Regions from separate parts of the Homo sapiens genome. Here regions 1, 2, 3 and 4 are each linked to region 5. The links are contacts of gene promoters, found by promoter capture Hi-C in blood cells and fetal thymus (Javierre and others, 2016). All regions are on one chromosome and are shown on one strand. Each heading gives the region's core, a stretch centred on a gene start or on the middle of the fragment in contact. The rest is flanking DNA. Distances are from core to core; before and after follow the strand shown.

Region 1 (2,700 bases), core at 9-2,508, 240 kb before region 5:
TAGAATTGAAAGAGCTATATTTAGCTATATGTTTAGATTACCAGTTAGAAGAAAGCAATATTTATATTTAGGAAATGTCTGTATTTTTCTAGGGAAGGTTTAAACTTAACTTTATAATTTAGAACCATAATTCTATATCTAGATGCAGCCAGAAGCCAGAGGTCATTTAAATTTTCTCTTTTAACCAAACTAATCCTCACTTCTTTCAAGTCAACAGCTGCACATTCTCTACAAATCCCATTTCTGAATCACAAAGATACATATCAGAAGCATAATTGCGTGTCAAAATTTGTCCTTTAAAATAAAGCATTTTCTACTTGCCTGCATGAAGTCAAATGTTCAAGTCAGTGTTGAAAAACAATATTTGAGTCAGATGTTGCAGTGAAAAAATGCTTTATGTTTATTTTAGATTTCTTTGCAAAATTTAGTTTTCAGTACTTTGTAAACAGCAGATTTCATGTCCAAACTTTCTTTAATGCTTTCTTCTCCCACTGTGTTTCAGTGGCCTATATCCTCTACTCAGAGGAGAGTGCTCCTTTTCCCCTGGTCATCTAGTTGAGCCCTCCCTATACAGCAGCTGCTTCCTTTGTACTTCCTGACACCAGGTGTGGGAGTCTAGTTCCAACCTCTCCAACAGCTGCATCAGAATTCTTCGATACATCTATACTCACGAGATGCTGCATTGCTATTTCTTTCTCTACCCCCACCACACCTATTTAATTTTCTTTCACCTTTTATCACAAAACTAGAATTCTGACCGTTTCATTTCTCTCATTTAAGATATATCAGGATTCCAGGAGGAAACCAAACAACATTTGTTAGATCCAGCGGGTCTAAAGTTGTAACTGGTTTTGTATATTTCTGCCTACAGATAGATAGATAGATAGATAGATAGATAGATAGATAGATAGATAGATATAGATTTTTTTGTTGTTGTTGTTGTTTTTTGTTTGGTTTTTTTTTTTGAGACGGAGTCTCTCCCAGGCTGGAGTGCAGTGGAGCAATCTCGGCTCACTGCGAGCTCCGCCTCCCAGGTTCACGCCATTCTCCTGCCTCAGCCTCCCGAGTAGCTGGGACTAGAGGTGCCTGCCACCACGCCTGTCTAATTTTTTTGTATTTTTAGTAGAAACGGGATTTCACTATGTTAGCCAGGATGGTCTTGATCTCCTGACCTCGTGATCCTCCCGCCTCGGCCTCCCAAAGTGCTGGGATTACAGGCGTGAGCCACCGCGCCTGGCCTTCCGTCTACATATATTTTGGCAAAATTCCAGTTTTGTGTCACATATTTGATTTGCTGCCATTGTACATAAAGAGTATCTTATGGGTATGGTTCAAAATTCTTTAATATTCTTATTTATGAAAAGGTTGAGAGCATTCCTTTTAATCTTTAGCATGGTCTTAAATGTGGTATGAAATACATTTCAAACCATGTAAGTTTATTTTTGTGACTGTTTTCAACTGTGATTGGTAACTGTTGTTCTGGTGCACTTATAGCATCTTTGGTCAACCACATCTTGATGTGAGGATGGACGACCAAAACTAAGTAGATGTTTTTATCTATCTAGGTCTTTTATGCCACTCTGGATCAAATCTACCATGGGAAGCATCCCCTGAGGAATTCAACCACAGACATTCTCAAGGAAACACAAGAGAAATTCTATGGCCTACCATATGTTCCAAATACTGTGAGTCCAGCATTTGGCTTCTGTTTTGTGTATTGAGTGGTTCTGCTATTACTTCTGTAGCTTGTGATTATCTTCCCCTTTGGAGAACTTGAAATCCCTACATTTATGTTGAGGCTTCACATGGCTCAAATGCTGGAAATTGCCTGGTTCATTTAATATTTCCAACTACCCATTTATATGTTCTTATTTTCCTCCCTCTAACAGTGTTTTTGTACCTTTTTGGAAATGTGGGGGTTAAAAAGGCCATTGGAGTTGGTCTATATTCTTCTTTTTAGTTATTTTTCTACAATGTGAAAAATAGTGATGTAAGATGAATGTGATTACCAGTCCTGAATCATTTTCATTGCAAAGAGAATTAACATGTATTGAGTATCTTACATTGTACCAGGAATTATAATAGATGCTTTACATATCTTATCTTGTTGAGTACCATGTCAGGAGAGAGAGCAGGAGTAATGTTACCATTTATTGGATTCTAGGCGCCAGACTCTATCTAATTCCTTTGGGAAAAGATCTCTAATTTAGCTCTCAAAATAACCTTATAAATTAAATTATATCCTTGTATTTGGGGCTCATTTGGAGGCACAGACACATTATATGTCCTGTCTGAGATCATCTAGGTAGTTAAGTGATTGTATGGGGGTTCAAAACAAACAGGCTTTTTTCATCACTCAAAGGCTCGTGTAAGGAGCAGTTGAGCACCGTGACTCCTAGTGCAATTAACAGTGTGATTCTTGGTGCAGTTAGCAATGTGACTGACTTAATGTTACCCAGGCCTTTCTCAGCTGCAAGTGATAGAAACGTGGTTCACACGGACTTAAACAGAAAAGGGAATTTATTGAGTCTTGTAACTGAAAGGTGCAGGGGTATAGGGGTGTTTCAAGTAAGTTGGATTTAGGTCTCCCACAATGTCGTTAGAAATGTTTCTCTCTCTTTCTGCCTCTCAGCTCGGTGTTTTTCTGGGTTCCTTTCATTCTCTGGCAATCCCCCCAGACTGAATGGTTTGATAACTACC
Region 2 (2,700 bases), core at 107-2,606, 190 kb before region 5:
TATTTTCTGGGGAGTTAACAGCTTTGTTAAAGAGTGTTGTTATCATGGTTAAAAAAAAAGTTAAGCTTTTTAAAAAAGTTGTTTATTTATTTTTTAATTATTATTATTTTTTGAGACAGATTCTTGCTCTGTCGCCTAGGCTGGAGTGCAGTGGTGCGATCTTAGCTCACTACAACCTCCGCCTCCCGGGTTCAAGCAGTTCTCCTGCTTCAGCTTCCCAAGTAGCTGAGATTACAGACTTGTGCCGCCACGCCTGGCTAATTTTTGTATGTTTAGTAGAGACAGGGTTTCACCATGTTGGCCAGGCTGGTCTCGAATTCCTGGCCTCAAGTGACCCAGCTGCCTCAGCCTCCTGATGTGCTGGGATTACAGGCATGAGCCACTGTGCCCGGCCCAAGCTTCTGTTTTTTAAAAGAAATGTTTATGTCAGATAAAGACAGAAGAAAGTGGATGATTGCTGTGTCAGATTTGTTTCAGAAAAGTAAAAATGTTAAAGTCCTAAGTGTAGCCTTTGAGGACAGTTTTCATAGTCCCAGCCTTGGCTGGGGTGACGTTACAGCAGATATACCATCGCAAGCTCGTGTGCCGTGCTTGCATAGCCCTGCACCTGCTGATGAATTGGAATGGAGATGTTTTCCACTTTAGCAACAGAAAAAGAGCAGTATTCGTAGGAAAAGAAGTTTCCAGTGGAACTGTGTCCTTCCATGAAAATCCATGTGGCTTTTCCTATCATAACTACTACATTGTCCTGAGATAGAATGGATGCTCTCTCTCTGTGCCAGACTCCAAATTCTCTCCTCCAATGTTGATGACCAGGCGTTCCAAGTGGGTCAGAACAGATGTGCACCTCCACCCGGCTCCACCATTGGCACTCCTGCCACCGTCTCTAGGCTGTCTTTACGTTTCTGTCACAGAAGTGAATCCCAAAGTGATGAACTTGTACAAAACAATTAGGTGTCCGCTTCTTCCTTCTTATGATTAGAAAATAAGTGGAAGGAGCTTAGAGAAGGAGGGACAACAGTTTGTTCACCCTTCTTCCACTGAGAGGCAAGTTGCTGGTGGTTATCTTTGGTTCTTAGCGTTTGTCTCTTCTTAAAAAAAAAAAAAAAGAATGCATTCCCAGATTACCCCTCTTTGTATAGTAATGATTTTTAAATTCTGTCCCATTTTTCTTCTGCTCTGTGACTTTTTGTTTTGTCATAAAATGTAATTATGGTAAAAACATGGAAGGTTTTTGTGTTACAAAAACTAGTTCATGAAAAGCAGTTCATGCAACAGAGAATCATTGCAGAGTACAACTCTCTGAACTAACTAAATTATTAAAAATAAATAAACTCCTGACTTTACTGTTTTTGTAGATAGTCATGTGAAATAAAATGTATTATAATCAGTGTAATTAAACTCACTTAATGAAGAAGAATAGCCATATATTTGGAGCAAAACATATACATCTATATATGATTATATTTATGTGATACAAAATTTTCTTTGTGTATGTCTTAGTGTGCTAAGGCTGCCTTCACAAAATGCCAGAGACTATGTGGCTTAAACAACAGAAATTTACTTCCCACTGTTTTGGAGGCTGGAAGTCCAGACCAAGGTGTCAGCAGATCTGGCTTCTCCCGAGGCCTCTTTGGCTTGCAGACAGCCTTTCCTCTGTGCCCACACCCTGGCATCCACCTTTCCTCCTCTTCCAAGATACCAGTGAGTTTGGGCAAGGGCCCAGTCTAAGAGCTTCACTTTTACTTAATCACGTCTTTGGAGGCTGTGTCTCCTAATAAGTCACATTCTGAGGTATGGCTTTGGGTTTCAACATGTGAATTTTCAGGAGACACAGTTCAGCCCTAACAGTGTATAAAATGTGAAAATATTGATATCATAGGTGACGTAGCCTTCTAGGGTAAAATGCAAATGAAAGCATTTACGGGTCTCTCTGTGTCTCCACTGTGTTCTCACATGTGATATTCTCCAAGTGGAAACTGACTTGTGTCCCGTGCTGTGTCTCTCTGTTCTTGGCAGGCCTGGCAGCTGCGATTCAGCCACCTCGTGGGGTATGGTGCTAGATATTACTCTTACCTCATGTCCAGAGCGGTCGCCTCCATGGTTTGGAAGGAGTGTTTTCTACAGGATCCTTTCAACAGGTAAGGGGGTAAGTTCTAAAATGTCCCCATCTTGGACCACAGTAATTCCCCACTCTATTACATCTGGAAGTCGGGCTCGAGAACTGCAGCCCACATAACACAGCCAAACCTGGCAGAAAGTGGCAGGCTCCCCACACAGCCTCGCCCCACTTGGCCATTCCCACCCAAGCTTGCTCCTGCTTCCCGCAGCTGACCGGTGGCCCTGGACATCCCCCTACCCTGCAGCCACTGTGTAGAGGTGGCTGTGTGGTGTCTGAGGGAACCCTTGTATGAGGGCTCCTGTGCTACCTGAAGCAGCCCCTGCTGCTCCTGTGGGTTTTCTTGGCTTTTCTGACCTCACCACGTGATACGGGATGCCCACCCCTTTCCACAGAATGGAGGCAAAACAAGGCACTGGAGAGGCTGGGAGCATTGTCGGGAGGAAGTAGGGGTGCCTAGGATCAGTAGTCCTGCTTTCCCAATCTCTTTCTAAAGGCCAGGTAGTGGTTAAACTTCCATTGGGTGGAGAGGTACAGGAGATCCCTTGCTTCCTGGAGGGTGTGAGGGATTCTATGCTGTG
Region 3 (2,757 bases), core at 14-2,513, 150 kb before region 5:
AATCAATTACTGCGCATTTACTGAGCACTTTGCTGGGTGCTACAGACCCAAAGATGAATAAAACATGAATTCTACCCTTGCACTCCTAACCGTGTAGTCAGTAGGTGCTGAGGAATCAATGGAGTGTCAGAGTGATGCTGCAAAGTAGACAAGGATTTTAAAAGGAAGCGAGACCTCAGGAAGATTTTGAGGTAAACGATAAGAGAGAATTAGAAAAGCAACTGAAAACAGGGCTCCATATACCCATCTGAAGGATCTGCCTGCCTCCACTTTGAAGCAAGTCCATTCCTGCAAGACGAGCTACCCAAGGATGCCAAAATGTAAAAAGGATTATCGGACATCTGTCCAAACCTATAGACCATACCACAGCAAGAGTAAATGTGAACCAACATAACCTGTGGACTCTGGGTGGTGGTGCCGCATCAGTGTAGGTTCATAGCCTGTAACCAGTCTACCACTCTGGATGCAGGATGCCGATATGGCGGAGACAGCGGGGAGGGGTGCACAGGAAATTTCTGTTCCTTCCACTCCATTTTGCTGCGAACCTAAAACTGCTGAGTGGATAATGTATGTCTTAAGGAGTTCCTGTGCAATTTGCACATTACAGCACTTTCCTTCTATACCATGGAAGGGGAGGGAGGTCCTGGAGACAGACAGAGCCCAGAAGAGTGACAGAGACACCAGGTCTGAGTGGTCTCAGTGTCCCCAGCCCCTGCAGCATCTGATACGGTTTGGCTCTGTGTCCCCACCCAATCCCACGTGTCGGAGGAGACCTGGTGGGAGGTGATTGGATTATGGGGGGGATTTTCCCCATGCTATTCTTGTGATAGTGCATGAGTTCTCATGAGACCTGATAGTTTAAAAGTATGTGGCAGGCTGGATGTGGTGGCTTATGCCTGTAACCCCAGCACTTTGGGAGGCCAAGGCAGGCGGATTGCTGGAGCCCAGGAGTTTTAGACCAGCCTGAGCAACATAGTGAGACCCCATCTCTACTAAAACTACAAAAATTAGCTAGGTGTGGTGGTGCATACCTGTGGTCCCAGCTATGCGGGAGGCTGAGGCATGAGAATTGCTTGAACCTGTGAGGCAGAGGTTGCAGTGAGCTGAGATCATGCCACTGCACTCCAGCCTGGGCAACAGGGCCAGACTCTTGTCTCAAAAAAAAAAAGTTTGTGGCAGTCTCCCCCCTCACTCGTTCTCTCCTGCCACCATGTAAGACGTGCCTTGCTTCCCCTTCGCCTTCCACCATGATTGTAAGTTTCCTGAGGCCTCTCCAGCCATGTGGAACTGTGAGTCATTAAACCTCTTTTCTTTATAAATTACCCAGTCCCAGCTGTGTGCGGTGGCTCATGCCTGTAATCCCAGCACTTTGGGAGGCAGGCGGATCACGAGGTCAGGAGATGGAGACCACAGTGAAACCCCGTCTCTACTAAAAATACAAAAAAAGATTAGCCGGATGTGGTGGGGGGCTTCTGTAGTCCCAGCTACTTGGGAGGCTGAGGCAGGAGAATGGTGTGAACCTGGGAGGCGGAGCTTGCAGTGAGCTGAGATCACACCACTGCACTCCAGCAAGGGCGACAGAGTGAGACTCCGTCTCAAAAATAAATAAATAAATAAATATAAATTACCCAGTCCTGGGCATTTTTTTGTAACATTTGTTTGTAACAGACTAATACAGCACCTGATGCAGCTGTTACAAACTGTTGAGCTGAAGACACCACAAGAGAGCATGGATCATGGCAGAGAGAGGAAAGGGTTCTGAGTGGTAGAATGGTGACAGCGCTCAGCACTGCAAGGCATCAGGGAGGACACTGGGCTCCCAGGGAATTTTAGAACTGAGGGAATGGTGAATGGAGCGAGAAGCCAAGAGAAAAAGTAAGGAACAAATGATGAGGAAATAGAAGCAAGGAACACAGATTATTCACAAAGCCTGGCCAGGGTGATGGGAAGAGCAATGGGATGGCACATCATGCTCATCTGACCTCATGGTCAGCTGCCCCCCAAGGAGCACAGGAGGCCAGACCAGGCCATGTGTGATGCTGCAGGGCACCAACCCCAGAGGTCTGTAGAAAGAGTATGTATTACACACTCTTGTGTAACATGTGCATACATCCACCAGAGCGGTACACGTTACAACCCATGAACCTACACTGACCCAGGGTCCACAGGTTACACTGGTTCACATTCACTCTTTCTGCGGTACAGTCTATAGGTCTGTAACGCAGTGATGTATTACACACCCTGCACCATCACGGAGCATCACAGTCCCATGTTCAGGGCTGTGCACCACACATTCTTAGGACAGACACTGTGATGCTTAATTGTATGTAGCAACTTCACTGGGCCACAGTGCCCAGATATGTGGACAAACATTATTTATTCTTGGTGTTTCTGTGAGGGTGTTTATAGATGAAAATAACATTAGAATTAGTGGACTTTGAGTAAAACAATGCCCTCCAAATATAGGTGGGCCCTGTCCAATCATGTGAAGGCTTGAATAGAACAAGACCAACCTTCCCAAGCAAGAGGGGATTCTTGAGAATACTGCCTCTTGCCTTTATCTGCACCATCAGCTTCTCCTGGGTGTCCACATGCCTGCCTTCAGACCTGTACCACAGCATTGTCTTTCCCTGGGTTTTCAGCCTGCCAACCAACCCTGCAGATTTTGGACTTGCCAGCCTCCATAATTGCGTGATCCAATTTCTTTTAAATTTTTTTAAGAGATAGAGTGTTGCTATGTTTCCCAGGCTGGAATGC
Region 4 (2,700 bases), core at 144-2,643, 220 kb before region 5:
CCCTTGTGGTTCTGACTAGGGCGTACTCAGATAATTCAGGATAACCTTCTCACCTCAGGATCTTTAGCTTAATCACATCTGCAAAGTCCATTTTTTTCCCAAATAAGGTGACATTCACAGGTTCTAGGGATAGGATGTGGACATCTTTGGAGGAGAGGGCATTATTCTTTCTGCCACACAGAACATTTGAAAGATTAGCTTTGGGGGCATTGCTGTCATCAGAATTCTAACAGGAGTAGGATTGGTGAGAGTGAAGTAAAACAGAAGTAAGAAATCTTCAAGGAGTGAGTGAGAAGGACGGACGCTTCTGCTAGTGACTGCAGTAGTGAAGGGTAAAGAGGATTATGGTCCACTGTCAGCAAAATCAGAGTTGGAGTGTTCTGAAGGAGAAGGAACTGGCAGTGAAAACCAGAGCCAACACCTACTTGCCTTCAGACCCAGTCATATGCAGGATTTGGCGAGAAACCAGCCGTGTCATGAAAAAGTTGCAAGGGAAGTATGGTTCTTAGCAGAGACCTGGGTTTCTTTTAGAATAAAAAGGTGAAAGGAACCTTCAAAGAAGGCAGAGGAAAATACAGGTGGTTTTGCTGATGACTGGATTTTAGAAAGCTCAGCAGAAGAAAAGGGAGGAAAAAGAAGAGGGCAGAAAGTGGATACAGAGAACAGCCAGGAGAGCAGTGCTGCCATAGTCATGGGTATCCACAGGGTTAAAGGTCTCAAGACTGATCGCAGTGGAACTGCTAGTGCGGGTAGAGGGGAGGGTGGGAATTCCCAGCAGAGCACGAGGGCGTAGGATGAGGAAAGCCCCAAACCCGGCAGGTGGGAGAAACTGAGGGTCAACAAGAAGGGCATGGAAAGTGAGATCTGTTTTTATGTTAGCTTGCCAAATAGAAGTACAGTATTTCTTTCTCTTTATTTGTACCTGATACTCTGGGTAATGCAGAGGCCAGGATGACCGTTCAGTTTTGTGCTGAAGCTAAGAAGCTTTGCGTAGCTTTCCAAACTTTGGAGTAATGCTATGGGGCCAGAATAGACTGAGGACTAAGGCATTTACCTAAGGTGTTCCGGGCAGAATTAGTACACACATTGCCTGACATTTGGACTGGAGCTCTTTCTGTTACTCTATTTTACTGTCATGAAGTAAATTCCAGATAGAGTAAACATTTAAATGGAAAAACATAAGCCATTAAAAAAGGCTTCTATAGACAGATAGCTCTTTTTCATTTAGAGAAGGTTGGTAAATGTAATAGAAATGGAAGAAATCACAAATGCAAAGAGTAGTAGATTTGAACTTCTCTCATAAAACATGATGAATAAAATGTACTGGCAAACAAACTGGTTTTTTTAAATTATAACATCTGTGACATATGGTTTACGTTTTGCTGCATAAAGAGCTCATACAAATAAAACAATGACAACAGAAGAACAATTTTTTAAAAATCCCAACATTGGCCAGGTGCAATGGCTCACACCTGTAATCCCAGCACTTTGGGAAGGCAAGGTGGGCAGATTGCTTGAGCCCAGGAGTTCAAGACCAGCCTGGGCAACATGACGAGACCATGTCTCTACAAAAAATAAACTTAGCTGGGCATGTTGCTGCATGCCTGTAGTCCCAGCTACTTGGGAGGCTGAGGTAGGAGGATTGCTCCACTGAGATAGATAATTTTATATTTGTTCATAAAAGGATAAATTTGTTTAAAAGGAGGGACCAAGAACCTGAAGAGTTTACATATCCCTTAAGCCAATAATGTAACATTTAAGAATTTGTTCTAAAGGAATAAATAGAAATCCAATAAAGCTTGGTGAACTGATCATCATAACATGTACAAAAACATTGGAAAGAATCCAGCATTCAAGGAATGGCTAGATAAACTAGTGCGCATCATGTGGTTGTCACTAGGCCTGCTCACTAGTAATCCAGCTCTCCTATCTCTGCCCCATGGTAGAATTGCACTTTCATGCCCCTTGCAGTTATTTGTGGCCTTGTGACTTAATATGACCAAAGAAATGTGAGCAGAAGTGATGTGTATCATTCCTAGGCTGTGGCCTTCGAGAGCTACTATACAGTTGTCCACATCTCCTGCCCTTGGTTCAGCAGTCAATGACATTCCAGTTGGTGGAGGTCTTGAGAACATGGGTTCCTAAATACTGATAGTGCGAGACGGGCCCACTGACCTGTGATGACATGTTGTATGCTCAAGGAGCAAACACAGAGATTTTAGGGTTCATGTGATCACATTGTAACATAGCATAGCCTAATATGGCCCATATGAAATAATATGCAGTCATTCATGTTTAGAAAGAATTCATAAATAAGTTTAGGGAAAAACTGATAGGAAAGTATACATAGTGTGATTTTGTCTTTTTAAAATAGACTGAAGAAAACTTTGAAACATTAGCAAATATTGATCACACACGTGGATTAAGGGTGGGAGTTTCCTTTTTTATATTTTTCACAGTATTCCATTTTTTCTCTAATGAGCATGTATTCCTTCTAAAATCAGAAGAGGAAACACACAAACATATGCACACCCACCCTCCTCCAGCTGACTCCCAGTGGTATGGCCATTCAGTTCTCTGTGAACCATTAAAGAGGCCACGCTCATGGAAATGATAGTAATCATAGGGACCCTTTTTTACCTGAAGAGTGCAGCTGAGGTGGAGGATCAGGACTAAACTTAACTTGGGCTCAGAGTAGAA
Region 5 (2,700 bases), core at 44-2,543:
TCATGTTGGGCATTAGCTAAAGTGAAAATGTGACTAAGATACTTTATGTAACATAATAACTGTTGATTACTCAGATAGTTTTCATAAACAGTTGGCAAATTTTGACTTAAAACAGCTGTCACTATAAATGTAAAGTAAATGTTAATTTAGGAATATTAACCTTGTGAATGTTTCTGTAAATAAGGCTTATGCTATTTCCAAAGGTTATAGAAAATCACTGGAGTATTTTTAGCCAAACTTAGTGCAACTTTATCCTCACTGTTTTTAAATTCTTCAGTTTTACACATAAAAGTCTTTAATCATACTTGATGGTTTTTCAGTGATTCCCTTGAGTGTACAAACTGCATAAGGAAGTGTATTTGATAGATTTACATCTTGGAAGTGAGAGAATAAATAAACTAAAGAAACAGTATTGCCAGAGATACATTTTACTCTTTTATATAAGAAAACAAAGAAAGCATTTTCAACAAGCAAAGTTGCACTGACTGTTTACTAAATAAGGTAACCTGTAAATACTTAGAGCAATTATAGCTCACAGATCTCAGGGGTTGAAGTACCAGTTGCATGCTAAAGTGAGCGCTGTTCTGTTTTGTCCTGTTTGTACAACTCATTTCCAAGTAAAATTTGTATGACAGACTGCAAACCCTCTTGTACAAACTACTAAAAATTACATCAAGTTCCATAGTTACTCTGATACACACATTCAGCATCATGTAGTATTCAGCTGTATAAATGCTTTCTAAAAAATTAATTAAAACCATTCTTTTCTCAGAACACATGCGAAAAATGCAGTGAAAGCTATAACAAAGCTTAAAACAGAGTACCTGCAACATGCTGAGCTCTTTGCAGTACTTACCCGTTCAGCAACTTAGTTTCTCCTGGCAGCACTTCTGTGCCAAATGCTTCTACCTTCCCAAAAATGTATGTCAGCACAAGCCCAGACGAAACTTCAAATCCAGGAAAATAAAATTAACCATGCAGATCAAAGGCAGACGAGCAGGGAGATGAAATGCCTGTAATCTGATCAGTGAATCAGTTGCTGAACATCAAAGGCAGGGCTGAGTTTATATATATGCATGGATATCAAAGAAAGTTCACTTTCAGCAGGTAGTTACCCTCCCACCTCCTAGTCCACAGACTCTTTTGTTAAACATGGATCACGTTGTTTTCCTCCTCTTTTTTGCAATGAGGCAATGCTGGTAGTTCTCCCATGCTTGGGCTGAGTGGCTGGATCTGTAGCTTTTTTGGTTCCCAAGCTGTGTTGTGGACTGTGTGTTGGAAGCTTTTCCTAGTGCCAGCGGGTTCTGCTTTATCCCTTTCATCTCGCTGAACTGCAGATCCCATGACATCATTCAGCGCCGTGGGACTGGTAGGAGAGCTATAATTCAGCCTGTGGGGGAGTATAGCTCAAGAGAAGCCAGAGTTTGGCTGATTTCTAATCATGTTAGACTATTGTGCCTCACACAGGACAGTTTCTGTTATCTGTCTGCCAGCTGGAAAGGACAGCAACTGCTGCTGGATGCTTCTTGGGTGATAAGATCCCTGATGGATGGACGTGCCAAATGACAGCATTTAATTGCCTCTTCGCTGATAAAAATCACAATTTCCTACAGAGACTGGGTGTCAAATATTCAGCATAGTTAAATAGCACTATGAGACCACTCTAAAAAACACCCAAGGACACTGCCAGATGGACCGATAACATTTTCACATTTTGATTCCAGTTTTCAAAGTGACAAGTCTTTAAGGATTTTAAGGAAACTGCCCTTTCTTTGAAACATACATTATTAGGATCTGATTACCAATCAAACCGGGTTGTGTTAAGTAGTTAAGCAGCAGATAACCAACAATTCATGAATAAACTGCCATCTTCCACTGGCTCACTTAAGACTTTGGGCGGAGACTTAATCTCAATCTTTGCCTTAGTTCGGGACTCTGGAAATTAGATTTTAAAGCAATATCTACTTCTTAGACATATTTCATTAATACTTGTTGAGCATTTTAAAATTCACAAAAGAAGAATTATGTAGAACAAAGCATTTGCCCTGTGATTATTCCAAAGCCATGTTATTTGCCTTTTAGGGCTGTTTCTTCCGAACTCATAGTTTGGACTTTCAACTCACTAAAAAATTACCACCTTAGCCTAATTCTTCGTATTTTAAAATTAAATATATTGCTCATTATTTAAAAATTTTAAGCTATTTTCCTTAACAATGTCAGATTCAATACAATATGATTATTTTATTTTGAGTATTTAGTAAAATAGAAGATAAGAAGAAGTTTCATCTTCCTTGAAATCCAGGATATGGTGCTTTTCTGATTTTCAGACAGTTCTTTCATGGAATGAAGACAATTTTTCTATTTTATAATGGAAACTCACTAACTTTTAGAAAGTAAGTTAAAAATATTTTTGCAAAACTTAGGGGATAGTAGAACTCAGTCTTTTTCAATGTAACTTCCCTCCTTAACTGGTTTTGTCTAATTTTTCCTGACGCGATATTTGAAAACGTTATTTATGAAGTGTTTATTTCCAGATTTCTATGATTCTTGAATAATTTTAATAGCAAAATATTTAGTTTGAACTGTTCATAAGTTCTGTATAACATTTAAATAGTCCTGTTGATTTTTCCATGTTTCTTGTATAATTTTTCTACTTATACATCATTTCTCAAAAATGCACAGGGCTCAAATAGTATTTGA

The links. The method cuts DNA at HindIII sites, captures the fragments that hold promoters and counts their contacts. A CHiCAGO score of 5 or more calls a contact.
Region 1: a fragment that was not itself captured here is called in contact with the fragment with the promoter of TNFRSF19 in region 5 in 2 of 17 cell types (M2 macrophages and erythroblasts); the score reaches 8.0 in M2 macrophages.
Region 2: a contact is called between a fragment that was not itself captured here and the fragment with the promoter of TNFRSF19 in region 5, in 1 of 17 cell types (M2 macrophages). The highest score is 6.2, in M2 macrophages.
Region 3: a fragment that was not itself captured here is called in contact with the fragment with the promoter of TNFRSF19 in region 5 in 1 of 17 cell types (M2 macrophages); the score reaches 5.9 in M2 macrophages.
Region 4: a fragment that was not itself captured here is called in contact with the fragment with the promoter of TNFRSF19 in region 5 in 1 of 17 cell types (M2 macrophages); the score reaches 6.5 in M2 macrophages.

The regions. Positions count from the first base shown.
Region 1 is chr13:23,804,935-23,807,634 of GRCh38, reverse strand. It overlaps MIPEP (mitochondrial intermediate peptidase), which reads left to right. Exons shown (of 19, transcript NM_005932.4): 16 at 1,566-1,685. Among named protein-coding and RNA genes, the nearest start is that of PCOTH, 83 kb to the left of the region's middle. RefSeq lists an enhancer at 564-713. The HindIII fragment of the contact is 5,872 bases long and covers 1-2,700 here.
Region 2 is chr13:23,759,537-23,762,236 of GRCh38, reverse strand. It overlaps MIPEP (mitochondrial intermediate peptidase), which reads left to right. Exons shown (of 19, transcript NM_005932.4): 17 at 2,020-2,141. Among named protein-coding and RNA genes, the nearest start is that of PCOTH, 130 kb to the left of the region's middle. The HindIII fragment of the contact is 1,912 bases long and covers 401-2,312 here.
Region 3 is chr13:23,719,462-23,722,218 of GRCh38, reverse strand. No RefSeq gene overlaps it. Among named protein-coding and RNA genes, the nearest start is that of TNFRSF19, 150 kb to the right of the region's middle. The HindIII fragment of the contact is 3,546 bases long and covers 1-2,757 here.
Region 4 is chr13:23,787,858-23,790,557 of GRCh38, reverse strand. The region is part of intron 16 of MIPEP (mitochondrial intermediate peptidase); the gene reads left to right. Among named protein-coding and RNA genes, the nearest start is that of PCOTH, 100 kb to the left of the region's middle. RefSeq lists an enhancer at 614-663. The HindIII fragment of the contact is 814 bases long and covers 987-1,800 here.
Region 5 is chr13:23,569,005-23,571,704 of GRCh38, reverse strand. TNFRSF19 (TNF receptor superfamily member 19) reads right to left here and starts at 1,293. Exons shown (of 10, transcript NM_148957.4): 1 at 857-1,293. The HindIII fragment of the contact is 1,879 bases long and covers 1,285-2,700 here.